Regions from separate parts of the Homo sapiens genome. Here region 1 is linked to region 2. The links are contacts of gene promoters, found by promoter capture Hi-C in blood cells and fetal thymus (Javierre and others, 2016). All regions are on one chromosome and are shown on one strand. Each heading gives the region's core, a stretch centred on a gene start or on the middle of the fragment in contact. The rest is flanking DNA. Distances are from core to core; before and after follow the strand shown. Region 1 holds the start of LOC105370088 (a long non-coding RNA gene). Region 2 holds the start of ADGRD1 (adhesion G protein-coupled receptor D1).

What was found. Contacts are between HindIII fragments. The CHiCAGO score rates a contact against its expected background, and 5 or more counts as called.
Region 1: a contact is called between a fragment that was not itself captured here and the fragment with the promoter of ADGRD1 in region 2, in 1 of 17 cell types (monocytes). The highest score is 5.1, in monocytes.

Annotation. Positions count from the first base shown.
Region 1 is chr12:131,817,172-131,822,335 of GRCh38, reverse strand. LOC105370088 (a long non-coding RNA gene) reads left to right here and starts at 2,734. Exons shown (of 3, transcript XR_007063536.1): 1 at 2,734-3,084; 2 at 3,245-3,556; 3 at 4,512-5,078. The HindIII fragment of the contact is 1,627 bases long and covers 3,066-4,692 here.
Region 2 is chr12:130,951,403-130,955,910 of GRCh38, reverse strand. It overlaps ADGRD1 (adhesion G protein-coupled receptor D1), which reads right to left and starts at 2,004. Exons shown (of 25, transcript NM_198827.5): 1 at 1,380-2,004; 2 at 1,251-1,287. The coding sequence starts at 1,445. The HindIII fragment of the contact is 10,485 bases long and covers 1-4,508 here.

The sequences.
Region 1 (5,164 bases), core at 2,630-5,129, 860 kb before region 2:
CCGAGTAGCTGGGATTACAGGCACCCGCCACCATGCCCAGCTAATTTTTTGTATTTTTAGTAGAGATGGGGTTTCGCCATGTTGGCCAGGCTGGTCTTGAACTCCTGACCGCAGGTGATCCACCCGCCTCAGCCTCCCAAAGTGCTGGGATTACAGGCGTGAGCCACCGCACCTGGCCCTAAACTGGGGATTTTGTTTGTGTTGAGCACGTTTTTACTTTCTGCAACTATAAGGTTGTGTGTTTCCTGCCCCAGTCCTTGTTTTGTGTTTTTTTGTTTGGTTTGCTTTTTTTTTGTTTGTTTGTTTTTGAGGCACGGTCTCGCTTTGTTGCTCAGGCTAAAGTGCAGCGGCATGATCATAGCTCACTGCAGCCTTGACCTCCTGGGTTCAAGCAGTCCTCCCACCTTAGCCTCCTGAGTAGCTGGGACCACAGGTGCATGCCACCATGCCTGGGTAATTTTTTATTTTTAGTAGGGACAAGGTTGCCCAGGCTGGTCTCAAACTCTTGGGCTCAAGTGATCCTCCTGTCTTGGCCTCCCAAAGTGCTGGGATTACAGGCGTGAGCCACCGTGCCTGGCCCTGGGTTCCTTGTATTGGAGAATGGTATTAGAACTTCCCAACCTAAATATGAAACAGAAAGAGGCTCTCTAGAGGATATGTATATTTATTTGGGAGGGAATGTGTGTGCCATAGTAAACTATGTGTATATTAAGGGGGGTAAAGGAAGAAAAAGGGTTTTAAAGGAAAATGAGGACGCCATAATTGTTTTGAAATGAGAATATTAAGCCAATTATCCTTGGCTACGAGGAGGAATGACAAGATGATGCCAATCCGGGGTTGGACAGGCAGTTGCTGGGCAGATTTCCTTGCAGAAGTATTTTCTGGGCAAAGTTGTGTTTTTTGCAGTCTTTCGTGGTAGTTTTTATCAGGCATACAAGGCTGCGAACCCTCCCTTCATAATCTTCCCTGGCTGTATTTGTCAGGTGATTTTTTTTTACACTAATAACTCTATTTTGATTCTGAAAACTTTCCTATTTCCCCTTTTTAAAAATATTTTTTAATTTTTTTTTTGAGATGGTGTCTCGCTCTGTCGCCCAGGCTGGAGTGCAGTGGCATGATCTCCGCTCACTGCAACCTCCGCCTCCCGGGTTCAAGCGATTCTCCTACCACAGCCTCCTGAGTAGCTGGGATTACAGGTGTGTGCCATCACGCCCAGCTAATTTTTGTATTTTTAGTAGAAATGGGGTTTCACCATATTGTTCAGGCTGGTCTCAAACTCCTGACCTTGTGATCTGCTCACCTCAGCCTCCCAAAGTGCTGGGATTACAGGCGTGATCCACCATGCCCGGCCTCTTAAATTTTTAAAAAATAAATAAAGATGGAGTCTCCCTGTGTTTCCCAGGCTGGTCTTAAACTCCTGGGCTCAAGGGAGCCTGCTGCCTTGGCCTCCCAAAATGTTGGGATTACAGGTGTGAGTCACTGCACCCAGGCAATTGTTTTTTTTTGAGACAGGGGACTCCGTTGTCCAGGCTGGAGTGCAGTGGCGTAATCATAGCTCACTGCGGCCTCCACCTCTCAGGCTCAAGCAATCCTCCCACCACCATCTCACAAGTAGCTAGGACCACAGGTGTGCACCCCCAGACCCAGCTAATTTTTAAGGTTTTTTTGGCAGAGGCAGGGGTCTCACTATGTTGCTCAGGCTGGTCGTGAACTCCTGACCTCAAAAGATCCTCTTGCCTCAGCCTTCCAACGCACTGGGATTACAGGTGTGAGACACTGTGCTTGGCTATATTTCCCCCTTTGATCAAGATCTTTCTCAGGCAGCCAGATGTGGTGGCTCACGCCTGTAATCTCAGCACTTTGGGAGGCCAAGGCGAGTGGATCTCGAGGTCAGGAGTTTGAGACCAGCCTGGCCAACATGGTGAAACCTCATCTCTACTAAAACTACAAAAATTGGCCAGGCATAGTGGTGCGCGCCTGTGGTCCCAGCTACTCGGGAGGCTGAGGCAGGAGAATCGCTTGAATCTGGGAGGTAGAGGCTGCAGTGAGTTGAGATTGCGCCACTGCACTCCAGCCTGGGTGACAGAGCGAGACTCTGTCTCAAAAAAAAAAAAAAAAAAAAAAGCCAGGCAAGATGGCTCATGCCTATAATCACAGCACTTTGGGAGGCTGAGGCAAGCAGATCACCTGAGGTCAGGAGTTCGAGACCAGCCTGGCCAAAATGGTGAAACTCTGTCTCTACCGAAAATACAAAAATTAGCTGAGCATGGTGGTGCGCGCCTGCAGTCCCACCTACTTGGGAGTCTGAGGCAGGAGAATCGCTTGAACCCGGGAGGCGGAGCAGAGGTTGCTGTGAGCCGAGATCGCGTCACTGCATTCCAGCCTGGGCAACAAAGTGAGACTCCATTTAAAAAAAAAAAAAATCTTTCTCAGGCATCACTGATCAGTCTTCCTGTACTTAGCTTTTTTGTTTTTTGTTGTTTTTTTGAGACGGAGTCTCACTCTGTCACCTAGGCTGGAGTGCCGTGGCACAATCTCGGCTCACTGCAACCTCCGATCCGCCTCCTGGGTTCAAGCGATTCTCCTGCCTCGGCCTTCTGAGTAGCTGGGATTACAGACGCCCGCCATCACACCCGGCTAAGTTTCGTATTTTCAGTAGAGATGGGGTTTCACCGTGTTGGTCAGGCTGGTCTCAAACTCCCGACCTCAGGTGATCTGCCCGCCTCAGCCTCCCAAAGTGCTGGGATTACAGGCGTGAGCCACTGCACCCGGCCCTGAACTTAGGTTTTGATGTCCCAGGGATGTCCTGGTTGCTGGTCTTTCCCCACACCGGGTGGGGTTACGGTGGGTGGTGACTAGGAGTCAATGTCAAAACCCTTTTAGCCACAGTTGAGCAATAGGGGAGGTTTGGAGGGTGTGGTGCCTGGGCTGAGGCCCCCTGGGGCCCGTTACTGAGTTCAGTTTTGTCTGCTTTGGAGTCTCTTGCTGTCATCTCGACGCGCTGGGCCAGCATGATCCTGCGAGGAGTTGTACTTCAAAATTTAACAAGGAACAAACGCAAAGCTTCAAAAGGGGAAATACAAGGTAAAATTAATAGTAATGTGGCAATCCCAGTTTGCACAGTGGCTTTGTCACGAACCCAGCCGTAAAGGCAACCAAGGGAATAAATCAGATAACCTCACGGTGGGTGAGACCGGCTGCGACCCTGTGGCCTGTTTTCTTATTTTGTGCATGTGGGTCTCAGCTTTCCCAGAGGAGTTTCTCCAGGTGCAGCGTGTGGTGGCAGCAACAGCACAGGCATTTCCTTACTTAACCAGAAGAGACTAAGGGATCTCCTGGGTCAGGTTCTGTGGAGTTCCAGCAGAAGCCGCGGATCGTGGAAGTTCAGCGACACCACCGTCCTGCCCCGTGGGAGAGGTGGGCATTGAGATGGGTAAGAGCGTCATCATGACAGGAGTCCTGTTCGCCGGCGTCTAGGGAAAGCCGTCTACAGCATGAAACGTCCTATTCGCGACCTGGTTTGCAGTTCGAATGTCTCTGACTATGGCATTGGGAGGTACAGTGAACTTTTGTGTGGCCCACACATCAGACGCAAGGCTTCTTTTGGAGAATTCATCTAGTTTTAGCTGATAGGACTTCAGGAACAGAGAAGTTTCCATTTTTAGTAATTCTATGGAAGAAAGTTAGATTCGATGAATCCAGAAGAATGTAGGTGTTATGCGCGTCTGTATAAGAGGCCACCTAAACAGGCTTAGTGTGAGCAACAAGGCTGTTTATTCACTTGGGTGCAAGGGGGCTGAGTCTGAGAAAGGAGTCAGAGGAGGGTGGTGGGCCTATCATTGGTTCTTATAGGTTTGGGATAGGATAGGCGGTGGAGTTAGCAGCAATTTTTTCGGGCAGGGGATGGACGTTACAAAGTACATTCATAAGGGTGGGGAGGGTGTATTGTCACAGGGGCGGGGAGGAATGTTACAAAGTACATTCACAAGGACGGGGAATATCACAAAGTACATTATCACAAGGGTGGGGGAGGACAGGAATTTTTTTTTTTTTTTGACGGAGTCTCTCTCTGTCGCCCAGGCTGGAGTGCAGTGGCGCCATCTCGGCTCACTGCAACCTCCGCCTCCTGGATTCACGCCATTCTCCTGCCTCAGCCTCCTGAGTAGCTGGATTACAGGCGCCCAGCACCACGCCTGGCTAATTTTTTTTTTCTGTATTTTTTTAGTAGAGACAGGGTTTCACCATATTGGCCAGGCTGGTTTCGAACTTATGACCTCACGTGATCCGCCTGCCTTGGCCTCCCAAAGTGCTGGGATTACAGGCGTGAGCCACCACGCCCAGCCAAAAAATATCCTGTCTTACATGTTGTTAGATTCCTTTGGGGGTTCAGTGCTATTTCCACCTAATACAGGTCTGTAGCAATGTCAATGTTCAACCCCATCCTGGGTGGCATGGGATCACTCTTCATGGTTCACACCTTGTAAAAACCATCAGTCGTCATCTTTTTGTAGGTTTGACAAACGCTCTTTCGAATCCAGAAAAGTCAAGTAGAGAAGGAAAGTAAGGGGCCACTTACTGTGCCTCGAATCACAAGACCGCGGTGGACCAGCCTGGTTAAGACCTGTGGATGTCTTCAGCAAGAAACTTGGAGAGGCCCCTAAAGATATCGCCAGAGAGAAAACAAAGAAAGCTTCAGTCGCTCCTTCCTAAGCTGTCACGACTACTCTTTTAAATGGCCCCATGCTTGGATTTCTGTCACCACGACTGGGGGAGCCTGGGCGAGTGTGCTTTCCCTCACTGCACCTCCCATGGGAGCCCAGGCTGCTGCGCCGTCCTCAGACTGTTGGGATGATGAGCGGACGGTGAACTCCCACCACCTGCGCCTGTGAAGGGAGCTCCGGTTGAGGGGCTTTGCTGGCTTCGGGTCGGGGGCTGCCGTAGTTCTGTGTTGGGGAGATGGTGTGGACTGCGGCAGAGCCAAGCCTGAGCCCCACGCCAGGATGAGTGGAGTGCCCGGAAAGCATTCTGATTTCCGGCCTGGCGTGTCTTCCTTCCATTACACTGAAAGTTTTACCCAACAGCTCGTTTAAGTTTTTTTTCTTTTTGAGGTGGGGTCTCGCTCTGTCGCCCAGGTGATCCTCCTACCTCAGCCTCCCAAGGAGCT
Region 2 (4,508 bases), core at 755-3,254:
AGGCTGAGGCACAAGAATCGCTTGAACCCGGGAGGCAGAGGTAGCAGAGAGCCGAGACTGAGATCTCACCACTCAACTCCAGCCTGGGTGACAGAGTGAGACTTTGTCTCAAAAAATAAAAACAAAAATAATTTTTTTAAAAAGGCTGATTTCCCATCAGAGACAGGCAGGGCCATACAATAGCGCTCGGGGGGGTGCCCAGCCAAGCTCTGGTGGGGCGGGGGCAGAGGCTGTGCTCACAACAGGCTTCCCAGCAGGGGTTCAGGCACTAGCAGGGTCTCCTCCCCACCTCCTGCAACTTCCAGCAGGGAGCAACAGCCCAGTGACTGCCTGCTGCTCCCAGAAAGCCTCGTCTTCCCATCCCTGCCCCTGGCTGACCAGAACGTGTGCCCACACTCTTAACAGCGAAGGGTGTGTGCCTCCCTGTCTTCCCGAGAGAAGCCCCGTCCTGATGCTTCCTGGTTGGGTGTCACAATGGCCAATGGAATGTGGCTCTGGGGCTGGAGCAAGGGTGGCCCTCTATCCCGAGTCCCACTCATCGGCTGCTCCAGGCTAAGCTGGTCAGCACTCTGAGGCTGGAGGTCCCGAGACCCTGCTATGGGCCAGAGCTCCAACTCCCCACCAGTGAATCTGCCCTGAAGACATGAGATGGGTGTGGTGGCTCACATCTGTAATCCCAGCACTCTGGGAGGCCAAGGCGGGCGGATCACCTGAAATCAGGAGTTCGAGACCAGCCTGGCCAACATAGTGAAACCCTGTCTCTACTAAAAATACAAAAAAAAAAAAAGCTGGGTGTAGTGGTGCACACCTGTGATCCCAGCTACTCAGGTGGCTGAGGCAGGAGAATTGCTTGAACCCGGGAGGCAGAGGTTGCGGCCACTGCACTCCAGCCTGGGCAACAGAGCAAGACTCCATCTCAAAAAGAAAAAAAGGAAGAAAGGAAGAAAGAGAGAAAGAGAGAAAGAAAGAGGCAGAAGGCATTCAAATGAAGATCATATTTCCTTAATCACAATGTTTCATATGACCCAGCTCAAGGGGCCCAGAACCACTTCTCCATCCACCGCTCAGCCGGTGAGGGGTAGCAGAGCTGCCCAGGGTCACAGTGTGTGGTGAGGCAGTGAGGTCGGGGACCAGGAGCCCAACAAGGGCCATTCGCTGATGCCTCAGAGATGAACAAGTGGGCTGTTCCTGAGATACCTGCACTAGGCAGGGGGAGAGCGGTGCTCAGAGTGAGAAGGAAACACTCTTACCTGGATGGTCCTGCGATCTGGAGTAGACGCCACGCACCTGCGCACAAAAGACCACAGTGTGAGACACACTCAGGGAAAGCCTCCGGAGAAACCAAGCCTGTCGCCATCCTGGCCACTTGGGGACATTACCTGAAAGTTGTAATAAAATAGCAGCAGCCAGGAGTACCAGCAGCACAGCCGCAGCAGCTTTTCCATGGCTCTCTCGGAGGTCAAAGCTCGGAGCCAAGTGAAATTCCTGAGGGTCTGTGAGAACGGGACCTCTTAACCTTCACTTCCTTGGAAAAGGGACATTTTCACAGGTTCCAGGGGAGAAAATTTCTGTCTCCTTAAAGTTTGTGAAACACAGCTGTCTTGGAGACCTAATGGGTGTTTCTTCCTCGTCTCAAAACTTGAGATTCTTCAGTGATCAATAAACACGTTGCGATGACCAGAGCAGCTGTGGAATGCAGGGAGGAGAAACCCAAACCCGACTCGCAGTCCTGGGAAAGCAATCCCAGGTCACCACTGTGACCGCGACCTGCGCCCGGGGACGGGAGGCTGTTTGTCCTGCGGTATTTTCTTTTTATTTCAAGAGCCTCCGTTTGTCTCAGTCAGGTTTGGAGCTTCCCTTTTCTCTGAAGAAGGTTTTGTGCGTGGTTTTCCCCTGGAGCGCCCGCCTGCTCCTCGGGCTTGTCCTGCGGCCGCTCTCGAGCTCCTTCTGGTCTGGCTCAAGTTCACACCTCCGTCCTGCTCTCTGGGTGGAGGGGGAGTGAGTGATGTAAGTCTCTCTCCTCAAACTTTGTTCTGTTCTCCTTTTCTATTTATATCCCCACTGCTGTGTCCTTCCTGGGTCCTAACTCCAGCCTCTTAACAACAGCTGAAATATTTCCAGGATCTCAGGCTCAGAATCAAACCAAACAGACATGGTGTGTGGTGTGTGTGCGTGTGCGTGTGTGTGTTACTGATGCCTTCTGGTCAGCACCTTCAAAGTCGGCATAAATATTAATAAATACAAAATGCAAAACAAACCATAAACTCTGTTTAGATCTGAGTCTTGTTTGCCCCCAAAAGAGAATGAAGTTGACAGAGGGATGGAAAAGAGAAAGCAGCACACCCACTGTGCCCTCCATATTAAGCGCTGACCACATTTTTCTCTCTAATCCTTTCGGACGTCAGTGAAAGCTACGGAATTAATTACAAGGTACGCTGCGCAATTACACCATCCCACATATACCCCCACCCCAGCACCAGGAGGATGTTCTCAATGGGATAGAAAAGAGTCAGCCCCTTCGCCAGACATGCCTCAGTTTACCCAAGACCAAAGTTTATCCGATCTACTCCAAATACACGTGGACACACAGAGACACACACCCTAGAATTGCAGTCACAGCTATATTTGCTATGTGATTTAAGTAATATTTACCGCTTCATACTTTCTCCAACATTCACCAGCTGTGCTCCTAGGCAAATTACTTGATCTCTCTTAGTTTTCGAATTCCTCATCCACAAAATGGGGGTTAATAGTTCCTCCTCCTCAGGGCTGTAACAATAAATTAGAGGACAGATCCAAGGCTCTTCAGGCAGTACTTGGAAAATATGTGGCACTCAGTAAATGCTGCTATTTTCTATTAAGAAAAATTATCACTCAGTAAATGTTAGCTATGATTATTATTAGCAAGTATAACATAACACCCAGTAAATGTTAGCTGATACAGTTATCTCAATTGTCCTGACTTTAAATGGGAATTAAGAATCCTGAATCCAACATACTTCCTAAAGAGGATAAGAAAATGACTTCCAATCTCTGTGGGACAGAAAAAAAGAAAGTGCTGTCAAAACGTTAGGTGATTATTTTTAACTTGTGCCTGCAGCCTACAACCGCTCAGATCCTCTGATAGCCTGAGCCTCTCTGTGGAGCTGGAGAAGGGTTCCAGAGAGTTCCATCTCCTAGCAATGGAGAAACTGTGAACTCCAAAGGCCGGGGGCTGTCTGTAATAACGACCTTTATCCTGTTGCTCAGGCTGGTCGGCTTCAGGGAAAACTAATTTACAACCTTTATCTCTGCCATTTCATCAGCTCTCCAGTCCCCCACTGCCTCTCGCTGGAAGAGGTGAAGGGAGGGACAGGCAGCTGCAGGTTTTTCTCAGCTCCAGTTTTAACCTGGAAGAATTCAACAGATTGCTGAATATGCGGACCTTTCCCATCTCCATGACCGAACAAAGCCAGCATGGTTTCTTTTCATCATAAAATTGTCATCAGATAATGGGAGACACCCCGATTCAATGACTGTAATAAAAACTAGATAGCAAAGCAATTCAGCAGAGCTTGCCCTGCAGGCATCTGCACTCATCCTCAGACTCACTCTGACTCTCCATCCCGGACTACAGTCTCGTGCCTCATGCTATTTGCCTGCGTCCTGTCTCAGGCCTTGTTCAGAGGCCCAGATGAAGAGCCCGCCTCCATGTAAAGCAGCGTGTCCTGAAGCCTGGAGATTTGAGACAGGGCCTTGAGTGGTCCATGGGCCTGGAACCAAGCAACTCTGATGTCTCTGAGCATCTCATTCCATCACCCAAACGTCGGGGTGTTCGGCACCCAAACATCACCTTGACAGCAGGTCTCCCTCCCCCTAAAGCCCTCCCCTGCTGTATTTTCTCGATCCCACTAACCACGATCCAATGTACTTCATATCTTAGACGTTTATTTCATTTATTGTCAGTCTCTCCCCACCGAGGCGTAGGCCCCATGAGAGCAGAGACCTTCTTTCTGCCTGTTCGCTCTGCACCCCAGCCCCGAGAACAGGGCTTGGTACTTGGTGAGCACTCAGCGTTTGTCACCAAACCCAGCCTGGCTCTGCCCTCCCGCAGCAAAGCCAAACATGGACGTCGGGATTGCAGTGAGAGGAAGTGAGGCATTTAGAGCAGGGCACCAGGCGAGCAGAACCTGGCAGCTCACACTTCAGACCTGAACTCCCCGATGGCTGATGGGGGAGGGTTTTTCAAGGTGGAGAGGCAGAGGTTACAGGCTAAGTCCCACATGAATAATACCTGGAGGCTGCACATTGGTTTGACCTAAAAAGCTAGGACATCTTGAACTGGGGGCCCACAGGTCATATAGGTAGTAGATTCAGAGGTTTTCTGATTTGTGATTGGTTAAGAAGGCAAGGCTTTGTCAAAAAATTTGAGATCAGCAAAAAAGAATGTTAGCTCTGGCCTGTGGGCATGACCTCCTCCAGGCCCCTCAGGAAGAAATTTAGAACAAAGAACAGTGGTGGGCCCGGAG